Regions from separate parts of the Homo sapiens genome. Here region 2 is linked to region 1. The links are contacts of gene promoters, found by promoter capture Hi-C in human tissues and cell types (Jung and others, 2019). All regions are on one chromosome and are shown on one strand. The core of a region is centred on a gene start or on the middle of the fragment in contact, and the rest is flanking DNA. Distances in the headings are between cores, read along the strand shown.

What was found. Contacts are between HindIII fragments. The study calls those that stand out against the background at their distance.
Region 2: a fragment that was not itself captured here is called in contact with the fragment with the promoter of APOBEC3B in region 1 in 2 of the 25 tissues and cell types used here (lymphoblastoid cells and spleen).

Annotation. Positions count from the first base shown.
Region 1 is chr22:38,981,028-38,987,604 of GRCh38, forward strand. APOBEC3B (apolipoprotein B mRNA editing enzyme catalytic subunit 3B) reads left to right here and starts at 1,320. Exons shown (of 8, transcript NM_004900.5): 1 at 1,320-1,443; 2 at 3,048-3,204; 3 at 4,785-5,064; 4 at 5,271-5,385. The coding sequence starts at 1,427. RefSeq lists silencers at 1,454-1,503, 5,468-5,663 and enhancers at 3,702-4,901, 3,944-4,233. The HindIII fragment of the contact is 18,696 bases long and covers 1-6,577 here.
Region 2 is chr22:38,818,200-38,824,776 of GRCh38, forward strand. NPTXR (neuronal pentraxin receptor) reads right to left here. Exons shown (of 5, transcript NM_014293.4): 4 at 4,884-5,063; 5 at 253-4,634. The coding sequence ends at 4,410. Among named protein-coding and RNA genes, the nearest start is that of NPTXR, 23 kb to the right of the region's middle. The HindIII fragment of the contact is 5,623 bases long and covers 695-6,317 here.

The DNA of each region.
Region 1 (6,577 bases), core at 70-2,569:
TTCTGATAAACGGAACTGTTTATTTTCCACCGATGGTCTTATCCTTTGTCCATCTCTTTCTGACGGCAACAGAAAACTTCACCTTCCAGAGGAGCGCCTCTGCCTGGCTGTCCCACCGTCTGGGAAGTAAGGAGCGCCTCTGCCCAGCCCCCGCACCGTCTGGGAAGTGAGGAGCGCCTCTGGACGGCCCCCGCACCGTCTGGGAAGTGAGGAGCGCTTCTGGACGGCTCCCAGCAACCCCCCAGGTGTGAAGTGACAGCCCTGTGTGTGATCTTTCTGCCCTCCCCAAGTTTGCATTTTCGACAATAAAATTTACTTTTAAATTAAAAGATTTATACTGGGGAAGATTTAAAAAAAAAAAAAGAAAGAAAAGAAAACTCACCTTCCAAAAACAACCACTGGGAGTCCGCTTTGTGCAGAGGTTGGACAAGCTTCTGTGCAGGTAGGGGCGCTGCTGCTCCCCCTACCACCCACGCATCCTCCTCCCTGTCTGCATTCCCGTCGTCGTAGCCAGAGGAGTTCAGAGCCTCTACAGAGAGCACAACTTCTCCAGCTGGAACAAACTCCCCTTAAAGGAATCTATTTAGGAAGATTATTTCAATGTACATTCATTCCTCCAAAATATGCTTAGATGGACTTAAATAATCAGAAAGCTGTGTGTGTATGTGTTTCCCGTTTTCTTGGCCCACAAAGAACCCCTTGAGAGGTCCCTGGGCAGTGAGCCTGTTTATAGACACCCTTCTCCCTTCCTTGGTGTCGCAGACATCGCAGTCCCTCTGAGGGGCTGACCTGCCCCCCACCTTCTGGAAGCTGGGAGGTTGGAAGAGGGGACGCATGCCATGGACCCAGCACACAGCTGGGAACTCGAGGCACACCTAAGCCTTCCCTTGTGCTGTGCGGAGTCCACACTTCCTTCCCCACTGGAGTCTCAAAACCTCCCCTCACTCAACAGGGTGGTGCTGCTCAAAGCTCTGGGCACACATTAGGGCTGGGGAGGGGGTGGTGGAGAGGGGGCTCCAGCCTGCCCAACCACCAGGCAACGGGGCACCTGCCCCTCTCTCAGCTGGGTCTGGACCCGCCTCCCAGGCTCAGGCTGCAATGCCTTTCTCTTTCTCTTTGCAATTCCGTTGGGTCCTGCCCAGGACAGATAAAGACAGAGCAGCCTGTCTTTATTGGAGGTTCCTCTGCCAGCGGGAAGGGTCCGGGGAAAACCAGAGCCAGAGCCAGAGCCAGAGAAACATGAAGCACCCCGGGGCCTCCCACACCAATGCCTGAGCAGGAATGGGGAGGGGCCATGACTCATAAGGCCCTGGGAGGTCACTTTAAGGAGGGCTGTCCAACTGCAAGGACGCTGTAAGCAGGAAGTGAAACCACAGAGCTTCAAAAAAAGAGCGGGACAGGGACAAGCGTATCTAAGAGGCTGAACATGAATCCACAGATCAGGTACCGCTGCCCACTCTGCCTGCTGGGCCCCTCCTGCCCCTTCCTGCCTGGTGGTCCTGCTGGGCCTCAACCCTGGCCTCCCCCCGCCCCTGCCCCAGCCCTGGGCTCCCTCCCCTCTGGCTCCCCTGCCACACGAATCCCAGTCAGGCTCTTTGTCCTGCTGTGTGGTCACCCCACTGCTGCTTCTGAATGGGCTGCCTCCCCTACCTGCACCAGCCCAGGCCCCGTGCTGAGACTCTCCCTTAAAGTCATGCCCGGACTGGTGCTCCCCGCCCTGGGAGGGTGCTCCCTCTGTGTGCTTCCTGCCACTCCTGAGCTCAGAAACTGGGAGAATTGAACCAAAGGGTAATTGGAGCAATCAGGCATTTTTGTTCTCAGTGTTTTGATGAAATTTCTGTAAGAATTACTTTGCTTAAATACAAAGTCTTAGGAGAGGGTGCGGGGGTAGGAATGGTCTCTGAAGCACATGATAAATCGTGTCATCCAAGGATGACTCCATGGTGAGCAGATGTCCCCAGACAGGTTCCACTCCAAGGTCACTCTTCATCTTTTAGAACATGACCAGTGGTTGAGCGTGGTGGCTCACACTTGTAATCCCAACACTTTGGGAGGCCAAGGCGGGCGGATCATGAGGTCGGGAGTTTGAGACCAACCTGGCCCATATGGTGAAACCCCGTCTCTACTAAAAAACATACAAAAATTAGCCAGGCATGGTGGCGCATCTCTAGTCCCAGATACTCAGGAGGTTTAGGCAGGAGAATTGCTTGAACCTGGGAGGTGGAGGTTGCAGTGAGCTGAGATCATGCCACTGCACTCCAGCCTGGGCGACAGAGTGAGACTTCATCAAAAAAAAAAAGAAAGAACATGATCAGTAACATGGAATGTGAGAATGTGGGAAAAAAGTGCAATGATGAGGAGAAATGCTCTGATTTTAAAATTTAGTGAAAAGAGAGCCCAGTCCCCAACAGCTTTCTCCTACAGGATCCGTGATGCAGAGGCTGGACAGGGCTGGCCTGGAAAGGGGCCCCTGCTCCATCCGTCCCCAGCTCTGTGGCCTCGGCAGGTTACCCCGCCTCTCTGTGCCTCTGGCATCTCCTCTGTAAGATGGGAATGGCCCCTGCAGGCCTAGGGTAGCCTCACGTGAGCTCACACCCGCTCAGCACTTAGAAGAGTGGCCTGGGCCTCAGAATTCAGTTCTACCATGATTTTAAAATAATGTTAACACGCAGAGTGAAACATCAGGAAGGAATTGAGCTGAAAGGTTAAAAGCTATTTTTTAGGGGTGAAGGGTTTTATTCTCTTTTGCATTCTCCTAATGGGTTGGGGAGTGGGTTGGCAGAAATACTAGGAGGGTGGGGAATGTACCCCTGGAAAGGCCAGAGTTGGACCCGAGCTGGGAGAGATCACCCCAGCCCGCCTGCCAGCATCCCCTCCTCTTCCTCTCCCCTCAGTCTTCCTGCCTGGGAAGGCAGCAGAAATTCTCAGGGCTGTGGAGGGGTCGGGGAGGCCCAGGGCCATCCTGGGAGCTGTGTTCAGTGGACATGAGCCCCGAGGACTCCCGGGAGGGCTCCCTGCATGGGCCGGTTTCTCTCTTGTGCCTTCAGAAATCCGATGGAGCGGATGTATCGAGACACATTCTACGACAACTTTGAAAACGAACCCATCCTCTATGGTCGGAGCTACACTTGGCTGTGCTATGAAGTGAAAATAAAGAGGGGCCGCTCAAATCTCCTTTGGGACACAGGGGTCTTTCGAGGCCAGGTACCACCCAAACTTCAATCGAATCACAGGCAGTGTTGCAGGAATTAGAGGACTGGAGAGACTGATATGGGTGAGACAGGAGGATTTATTTAGGTGCACTGGTTCAGCAGACTCACATCCAAAAAGGCTGAGCCCTTAACAAAGACAGACTGAGGTATTTATAAGCAAACTTACAGAAGCAGAACAAAGGCGATTAATCAAACAGTGACAGGTCACATAATCTATAGCATAACAGATGACTTAGCATAACTTGGGGCCTTCTATAGCTGGTGGCCTTGCAGCTACATCAAAAGGAAAACAGGAACTGGCTAAATACAGACATTTGTAAAATATAGTTATAATGGTTCTGGAAAGGAGAGACAGTAAAGGAATTTGTCTTTTTTTTAAAAAATTTTTTTAAAATTTTCTTCAACCTTGCCCTGGAGGGGTGTGGGGGTGGTGTCTGGAGCCCATTCCTTTGGCCTTGACTTTTCAGGCAGTGTTATAACTGTCGTTGGAGTGAGCTGGCTAGGCAGAGGAAAACTTGTTCTTCTTTTCTTTTTAACCCTTGCTACAGTAGGACCTAAGCAGCTGGAAATGCAGAAAACACAACAATAAGTAAAATGCCCAGCACTGGGCTCTCAATTGTGTATTTTTCCCACATTTCTTTTTTCTCTTTTTTTCCTTTTTTTTTTTTTTTTTTTTTTCCGAGATGGAGTCTCGCTCTGGCACCCAGGTTGGAGTGCAATTGCACAATCTTGGCTCACTACAACCTCCACCTCTCAGGTTCAAGTGATTCTTCGGCCTTAGCCTCCCGAATAGCTGGGATTACAGAAGGCTGCCACCACGCCCAGTTAATTTTTTCTATTTTTAGTTGAGACTGGGTTTCACCATGTTGGCCAGGCTGGGGAATTCCTGACCTCAGGTGAGTCACCTGCCTTGGCCTCCCAAAGTGCTGGGGTTACAAGCATGAGTCACCGCACCTGGCCACTTCCCACAGTTCTGTTTTTTTGTTTTGTTTTGTTTTGGTTTTTTTTTAAGACTGAGTTTCACTCTTTGTTGCCTGGGCTGGAGTGCAATGACTCACTCTCAACTTCCACCTGCCAGGTTCAAGTGATTCTCCTGCCTCAGCCTGTGAGCTGAACAGTCACATGAGGGTGAAGGTTGTTGCCACAAGCTCAGGGGATGCTCCAGACAGAGTGGCCTGGGATGTCGAGTCACAGCTGCTCCATGCCACGGGGACAAGAGGAAGCAGGAGTTTAGTCTGACACACTGCCCTTCCAGATAGAGGGCAAGAGACAGAAAGAGGGGCTGAAGTCACCCTTGAATAACCACAGCAGTGGCACCCACAAAGGTGCAGTCCCCACAGCCTCATAGCCTCTTCTAGGTGCCACCTCTTAAGGCCATTACAATAGCCATTAACACTGAACGTGAGCTTTGGAGCAGACAATCACTCAAACTAAACAGGGGGGATGGAGGAAAGGAGCTTCAATGGCAAGATCCCCTGGGCTCCTGTCCTGGCCCCTCCTCTCCCTGCCCCACCCCTGCACTCCTCCTGCTCCCCCTCTCAGAGCATCCCCTGCCCCCTGCTCCTCTCCCAGGTGTATTTCAAGCCTCAGTACCACGCAGAAATGTGCTTCCTCTCTTGGTTCTGTGGCAACCAGCTGCCTGCTTACAAGTGTTTCCAGATCACCTGGTTTGTATCCTGGACCCCCTGCCCGGACTGTGTGGCGAAGCTGGCCGAATTCCTGTCTGAGCACCCCAATGTCACCCTGACCATCTCTGCCGCCCGCCTCTACTACTACTGGGAAAGAGATTACCGAAGGGCGCTCTGCAGGCTGAGTCAGGCAGGAGCCCGCGTGACGATCATGGACTATGAAGGTGAGAGGTGGAGGGGTCAGGGGAGCGTGAGCGGGAGGAACAGCATGAAAGATGGATGGATCTGCAATGCCATGGCTGGGGGTGTCCCAGGGCAGCCTGCAGGGGTGGGACTGGCACTGACTGCAACTGACAGCCAGGAGACCAGGCCTGGGAGGACAGGCCAGGGTCAGGGGAGAGCCTGACTGCTTCCCGCTTCTTCATCTCAGAATTTGCATACTGCTGGGAAAACTTTGTGTACAATGAAGGTCAGCAATTCATGCCTTGGTACAAATTCGATGAAAATTATGCATTCCTGCACCGCACGCTAAAGGAGATTCTCAGGTGAGGGTCTCCCTCTGGCCTCATCATCTCTCTCCTCTCACCTGCTCATCCTCCTGAGGCCTCCGTTGGCCTGGCCCTCCCGCCCTCCCTCTTGACCCACTGCCTGCCCTCATGGTCACACCACCTTCCCTTAACTCCTGGTGCTCCCTCCACACTGCCTCCTCCCTGCTTTCCTGGGCCCTTCCTGTGAGTAAGAGGCCCCTTCTGCCTCTAAGGCACCTGGGTCTTGGACTAGAGGAACAAACAGCAAGACAGGGTGGCCTGGGACACCAGCCGCTGCCCTTCTGTGACATGGGGACAAGAGGAGGCAAGAGCTCAGCCTTCCAGGGAACAACTCTGGGCAGGAGATGTGGAAGGAAGGAGCTCAGTGTGGGGGCACCCATGGCATCCTGGGGGGACATCTGAGGGCCACCCCCACCCGCTATTCCTCCCTCCAATGGTGGCCTCTGAGTGTGAAGGCATGGGGGAAGGCAGACACCTGCCCCTGACTCTCCCTCACTACCACATAGCTGCTGGGTGGCTGGGGACGGGGGGGGTCCCTGGGATGATTCCTGAGGGCAGGATCCAGGGGTCCCTCCAGATGTCCTCCCATCCAGGTGAGAAAGCAGCATAAAGTGAGGCTTGCACTCAGATGGGCCTGGGAGGTCACTCACAGCGCAGGTGTCTCCTGGAACAAGGGCCCTGGAAGATAGAAATAGAATCCAAACCCAGGACTAACATCAGGGCCAAGACAAGCCTGCCAGGGAGGCTGCACATGAAGCCCCAGATCAGGGACCACTGCCCGCTCTGCCCATGGGGCCTCTGCTGCCCTTTCCTGCCTGGTGGTCCTGCTGGGCCTCAGCCCTGGCCTCCCCCTGTCCCAGCCCCAGCCCTGGGCTCTCTCCCCTCCTGTTCCTCTGCCACCCCCACTCCCAGCCAGGCTCTTTGCCCTGTTGTGTGGTCGCCCCACTGCTGCTTCTGAATGGGCCACCTCCCCCACCTGCCCCAGGCCAGACCCCCTGCTGAGACTCTTCCCTGAAAGTCACCGCTGGGCTGGTGCTCCCTGCCCTGGGAGGGTGCTCCCTGTATATGCTTCCCACCATTCCTGAGCTCTGGAACTGGGAGAATTGAACCAAAGGATGATTGGAGCAATCAGGCATTTTGTTCTTAGCATTTTGATGGAATTTCTGTAAGATTTACTTTGTTTCAACAC
Region 2 (6,577 bases), core at 2,256-4,755, 160 kb before region 1:
GAACTGGGACACGTTCCATGTGGGACTTGGGTTCTTTACATCCTTCCTGCATAAATCCTGGGAAATGGGGTGTGTCTAAGCCTGGAACAGGGAGAACTTGTCAGCTGGGGGGCATATTTAGGAGCGTGTGTGGCCCTGGGGCTGTCCAGGATCAGGCGTCTCCTCTGCGCTTCCCTGTGGCCCTGTCCAAAGCAGCCCCCTCCTTCCTGCCCAGCACCCCCTAGGGCAGCCCCATCCCTGCAAAGAAGAGCCTCAGAGTAAACAGCATGTTTATTTTGAACATTCAAGTTTACAAAAACAAAAAGGTAACAAAACCATGACACAGATCACACACACATACACACACACACACACGCACACACACGCACACATGTTGCAGCTCATGTCAATTTATGTACAAAACAGGGAGAGGAGAAAGGGGCAAGGCTGGGGAGGGGTTGTCAGTAGGGTGCACTAATGTCACAGTGTCAGACAACTTGACATGCTCACTCACACTCAGCCTGGGCCCATGTGAGCCCCTTCCCCACCCAGGGGTCGGGGGTCAGGGTGGGAGGTGGGGGTCTGGGGTGGCAGGCAGCTGGAATAAAGGGGTGAAGAGAGTAGTCCCTTCTCTGGGAGGGAGCCCCTTTCCAAGTTTACTCAGGCCAAGGGTGCTGGGACACACAAAGGAGGGGGGACTCAGTGCTGGGGAGAGGCTGCTGCGTCCTAGAGAGGGCTGAATGCAGTCAGAAGGCTGGGCTCAAGTCTCCCGTGTCCAGCTGGGTGGCCTTGAGGGTCGCTCCCCTCCCCGGGCTTCAGCTTCCTCATCTGTAAAATGAGGGCTTTGGCCTCTTCTCAGAGCCCTTCCTGTCCAAATCTGTGGTCCCAGGTGATGCAAAGTGGTGGCAAGGGGATTGGTCCCCTTGGGATGTTGGTGGGGGCACCACATGCCACAAGATGGGAAGATCTGGCAGATAACAGCTGGGAAGCAACTGGTGCAGGGCTTGGCCCCAAGCAAGAGTTGGAGAAGCAGCAATTTCCCTCCCCTTCCCTGCCCAGGACTCGGGAGATGCTCAGCTTCCTTTTCTTTTTTGGCTCTCCTGTGAACTCTAGCTGAGCTAAAGAAGGGCTGAAGCTCTGGCCCATGGTGGGAGGGACACATTCCCTGAAGCAGCTGAGCCCCCTGGCACGGCTTCACCAAGGGGACCCTGGCCCTGGGGCTGGCCCACCCCCTGCCTCTGTTCCTTCACTTCAAGCCCTGTGGGCTGGGAAAGGGGTCGGAACACGTCTGGAGCAATGGTGCCCAGATGGCACTCTACACAGGTGAGTGGGAACTCAGCCCCTGGACGTAACCCCCTTTGGTTTGAAATCTGGGCTCCATCACTTGCTAGCTGATTGACACCAGGCAGATGACATCACCTCTCTGTGCCCCAGTTTCCTCACCTGTCTAACGGAGCCAAGAACGTCCTAACTTAGAACTGTGTTGTGAGATCAACAGGACGGTGCCTGTGCCACACTCAGTGCAGTGCCAGATGGCAGGACAAACACGGGCTCCATCGTGGTTATCAGCCAGGAGCAGCTCAGGATGTGACTGGGCCATGTCTGACTCCTCTTTCCCTGTCTGCTTGGATGTGCTCAGGGGCAGCAGAAGATAGGAAAAGCGGGACCCAAACAGTGGTGCTGGGGAAATTTGTTCCTGTTCCCTTTGGAAGGCTGAGTGGGTGATGCAGCACAGGAACAAGGCTTGGACGTCAGAGGTCTCATCTTCACTGTGACAAAGCATAAAGGACTTGGGGTTGAGCGTGTGTGTGGGCTCAAGTGACCATGCAAGTGCTGTCACCTCCTTCCTAAGACCCCATCCTTCTCCCAAGTCCTCCACAAGAGCTACCTTCTTCAAAACAATAACAGAAACACATCAAGCTTGGCGTCACTGAAATTGAAGTTCTGAATTCTGCCGTCACCCCAGCAACAGTGCCAGTATGATGAGACACTTGACCCAGCACTTGGGTTGATGTCTTTGGCTGTTACCGTGGCAACCTAGGTCTCAGCAGGTCTGGCTGAAGCCCGCCATTGCCTTTTCTTCCAGTGGGATTGTACTGGAGGGGCTGGGCAATCTATTTATGTTCTCGAAATGGAAAGCAGGATCTGGGCGCGGGAGGCAATGCAACTTGGAGTAGCTTCCATGGCACTGAGCCCCCCGGCCTGCAGCTCTTGCATCATGTCTCAGGCTAAGTGGCCTCAGGGAGTGGAGATAGGGAACAAAAAGGCAGGCAAAAGGTACAGTGCCCACTTGAGCCAGGGAGCATGCAGCTGCTCAGACACCTGGTAGGTGACTAGCAGGGGAGGGACACCTCAGCTCTCCATTCTGCCGAAGCGCCCAGGGATCATAACCTCCTCCCCGCACTTCCTGGGGTGGGGATGCCAAGATGTTTGGGTGTTGCATAAAGGAAGATGTTCAGGTGTCATGTTGGAAAGCATCTGACCTCGCGGATGTCTACCTGCTTAGGTGTAGACTGAACTCAAAGGTCTTCAGGGGCAGGCAACATGGAGGGGGAAGAACACTGAAGAGGGAGTCAGATGCCCTGAGCTCTAGTCCTGGCTCTGCCCCATGCTCTGTGATCCTGTGCAGGTCACGTGTCCTCCCTGAACTCTTCCCCATTTCTCACAAGCAAGATGCAGCTGTGGTGCCAGATGGGGTGGCTTTTCTCATCTTTAAGATTATTATTATTTTTTTGAGATGGAGTCTTGCTCTGTTGCCCAGGCTGGAGTGCAATGGCGTGATCTCGGCTCACTGCAACCTCCACCTCCTCAGTTCAAGAGATTCTTCTGCCTCGGCCTCCCGAGTAGCTGGGACTACAGGCATGCACCACCTAACCAGCTAAGTTTTGTATTTTTAGTGAAGATGGGGTTTCACCACGTTGGCCAGGCTGACTTCGAACTCCTGACCTCAAGTGATCTGCCTGTCTCAGCCTCCCAAAGTGCTGGGATTACAGGCGTGAGCCACCGTGCCCGGCCTCTCAGCTCTTAAGATTCTGACACTCTCTTGGGGAAGCTGGTGATGACTCAAGGGGACCAGGAAGCCATCAGCCCTTTGAGACACTCTCAGACAGGCAAGGGTGCCAGGCTGGGTTGATCCAAAGGGAGCTGGTTTTTTACAATCCATGCATGAGGTTAGTCTGCCTTGAACCTTGCCCTGGACTCTGAGTCTCTGCTGACCCTAACCCATGACTGGCTGCATCCCATCCACTGCCGAGTCCTGGGATCTACCCCTGCGAAGCCCAGGGTCACCAGAGCTTTCCCCACATATCCACCTGGAATCACAGAGAAGCTCACACCCAATCTGGAGAGCAAATGACCAAAGCGAGGGCCTCAGCTCACGAATGAGGAAGGCCAGGCCCAGAGAGGGCAGGGACTTACAGAAGGCCACACAGCACATTAGCAGGGCTGGCTAGGAACCAAGGTCTTCTCCCTCTCACCCAGTGCTCTGCTCACTGCTTCATGCTTCTCCCCACCCTCTGAGCTTCTTCCTTGCTGCCCCAGGACCATGCACAGGGTAGGTAATGTGGCTCTGCCAGAGGTGGGGTCTCCTGGGCCATGAGGCCTCTACCTTAGGGCTGCTCCCAGCCCAGGCTGAAGCGGTCCAAGTCCTGTCCTTGGCATGGAGGGAGAGCGATGACTATACCAGTGGCCATCACTATGGGTGAGCACAAGGGGTGACTGCAGCCCTTTGGCCTCCTGGGGTCTTTGTCCCCTTCCCTCCAGGCTGGAGCTGGGAAAGGAATGTCCTGGAGACTGAGGTGGGGCTGGGCCAGGCATGGAACCAACATTCAAACCGCTACACACAAAGAGAGGAGGAAAGAGGAGGAAGAGGGAGGCATGGGTGGGGGGGGGGGGAGGCTCCATCGAGATCCCACTGCCCTTGACTGGCAGCTGGTGGAAAGAGGGAGGAGGGTAAGTCTAACCTCTGATGTCCTCGTCATCCCCTTCTACAGCCTGTTGTGGCCCTGAAGGGGAAGCCACTGGGCCTGTTGCATGGGGGACAAGGGGGCGGGCGGCCACCCCCACCACTGAGATAGTGGGGTCCCCCTCATACACAATCCTACCCTACTGGGGGTGCTGTCAAAATTAGTGAAATCAGATACAGTTGATGGGCAGGGAGGGTGGGGTAAGAGACAACTCCAGTGCAGTGCCAGGTGGGCAGGCTCCCACTGTTCACTTGAGACGCTCCTCCCCACTCAGGTGGGGACAGGGGACACACTCGCAGGGCAGGGCATTCTGGAGGTGTGGGTACAGGTGAGGGGAAATGGGAGGCACAGCCAGGAGTGGGGCAGGAGGGAAGGCCAGTGCGTGGGCAGGCTGAGGAGGGAATATGACCCCCCTCAAGTCCCCAAAGTGGCAGGCAAGGGAGGGGCCCTGGATGAGGTGGCCCCTCATGCCTTGGCCCTCCCCTTGCAGACATCGAAGGCAGCCTTTGTTGCACCCCCAAAGGCCTCCACCAACTTGTCTTCCCAGGGAAGGACGTTGCCCAGCAGTGGCGCAGTGCAGTTGGCAATGCCCAGGACCTGGGCTGGTGTCAGGGCGTGGTCCCACAGGTTAAACTGGGCAATGTCACCGACAAAGGCCTGGGTGGCATCAAACCGGCCACCCAGGGTATCCTGGGCCAAGACAGCAGCAGAGAAAGGAGAGGCATGGAGTGAGGGAGCAGAAAAGACAGGCAGGCTGGCTCAGTCAGGCTCTTGTCCCCGAGGCAGCCCCACCTTCAACCCCACTGAAGCCCCACCGCCAACGCTCTAGCCCCACCTTCAAGATTCTAGTTCCTTGGGCAGGTCTCTGATCTCTCTGGCCCTCAGTCTGCCCATCTGCACAATTAGGAGGTCCAGCCCCAATATCAGCCTGAGCCTTACCTGCTCCTGGCCCAAGATAAGGATCCCATGAGGCTTGATGGGGTGCCAGGCAGCCAGGTTCTCACCGGAGCCCTGCAGCTCCCCGTCCTGGTAGGCAGACCATAGGCCATCCCTTGTGGTCCAGGCGATGCAGATGTGGTGCCAGCCATTGTCCTTCAGGCTCAGGGGCAGCTGGGCCACCTGGACACAGGTCCCCCAACCCCAGGTCAGAGGTGCCCCAAGGCCCAAGGCCCATGGCTGAGGCAGTGGGGTGGGGCTGGGGAGACCCATGTCCATCCTTCCAGGGCCCGACCCCAGGCCTGACCCTCTCCATCCTCCTGCCCAGTGTCTTTCCCTGACTCCTGTCTCCTCTTTCCTCAAAGACCAAACCAGATCACAAGGGACTCTCTGGTTTTGGTTTTCAGTTGTCACAAGGTAGTTCACTCACTCTCCAACAGGCCTATTAAGGTCACTTGGGGAGAGAGGGATGTCTCATAATCCCAACTTCCCCTGAACACCTCACACAGCACTCAGCACACAGCTAGGGCTCAAGAAGTACTGGCAGGGATAGAATGAGCCTTGGACTCAGAGGCCAGGCTCCAGCATCTGGCCCTGGCTCTGCCACCAACCCCTGTGTGATCTGGGGAGGCTGCTCCTTCCTCCCTGGGCCTCAGTTTCCTTATCTGTAAAGTGAGGTCAGACAAGGGATGACAAGTCTGCAAGGGATGGCAAATCTTCCTCCACCCAGGGCAGACATAGCCAATCAATCACGAGCCTCGATTTAGCTCAGATCCCTCAGCACAGTGCTCTGGAAAGCCACTGCTGATGGGTTAGAGCTGGCCTGTAAGATGAAAGGTGCTTGCTGTCTGTGGATTTGGTGCTCCCAAAGGGCTTCCTCATCTGGTAAGTTTCCTGAGGTCACATTTTTTTTTTTGAGATGGAATTTCACTATGTTGCCCAGGATAGAGTGCAGTGGTGTGATCTCAGCTCACCACAGCCTCCATCTCCTGGTTCAAGCAATTCTCCTCCCTCAGCCTCCCAAGTAGCTGGGATTACAGGCGTGCACCACCATGCCCAGCTATTTTTTTTTTTTTTTTTTTGTATTTTTAGTAGAAACGGCGGGATTTCACCATATTGGCCAGCCTGGTCTTGAACTCCTGACCTCAGATGATCCACCCACCTCAGCCTCTCAGAGTGCTGGGATTACAGGCAAGAGCCACCTTACCCAGCCTGAGATCACAATTTAATGTAACATTCTCTGAGGCCTACGTGGTGCCTGGCCTTGTTGTGGATCCTGGGGATGTGGAGCTGGTCCACGCCTTAAATGAGCTGAGTCTGCAGGAGGGGAAGGACTTTGGGGCAATGCTATAAGACAAAATAACGGAGGGCATATGGGAGGTACAGAGGCTGCGAGGCCCAGAGGTAGAGGGGATATGGGAACAGAAGCCACGTCAAAACCCGTCTGGAAGGACAATGGATCCACCATTCCATTGCTAGGCAAAACAAGTGGTGGGCACAGAAGGAGTAAAGGCTTAGAGGCTGGAATAAAAAGGGAACAGTGAGCAGTCTGTTAGGCTGGCTCTCAAAAGGACTCTAGAGCGTCCCAGAACAGGGCTGCCCAATGCCCTGTCCAGGGTGCTGAATTCCTTCTAATGAGAACTGAGTGCTGAACTTGGGCCAGGCCAAGGACGGCAGCCAGGGGGTGATGAAGGGCA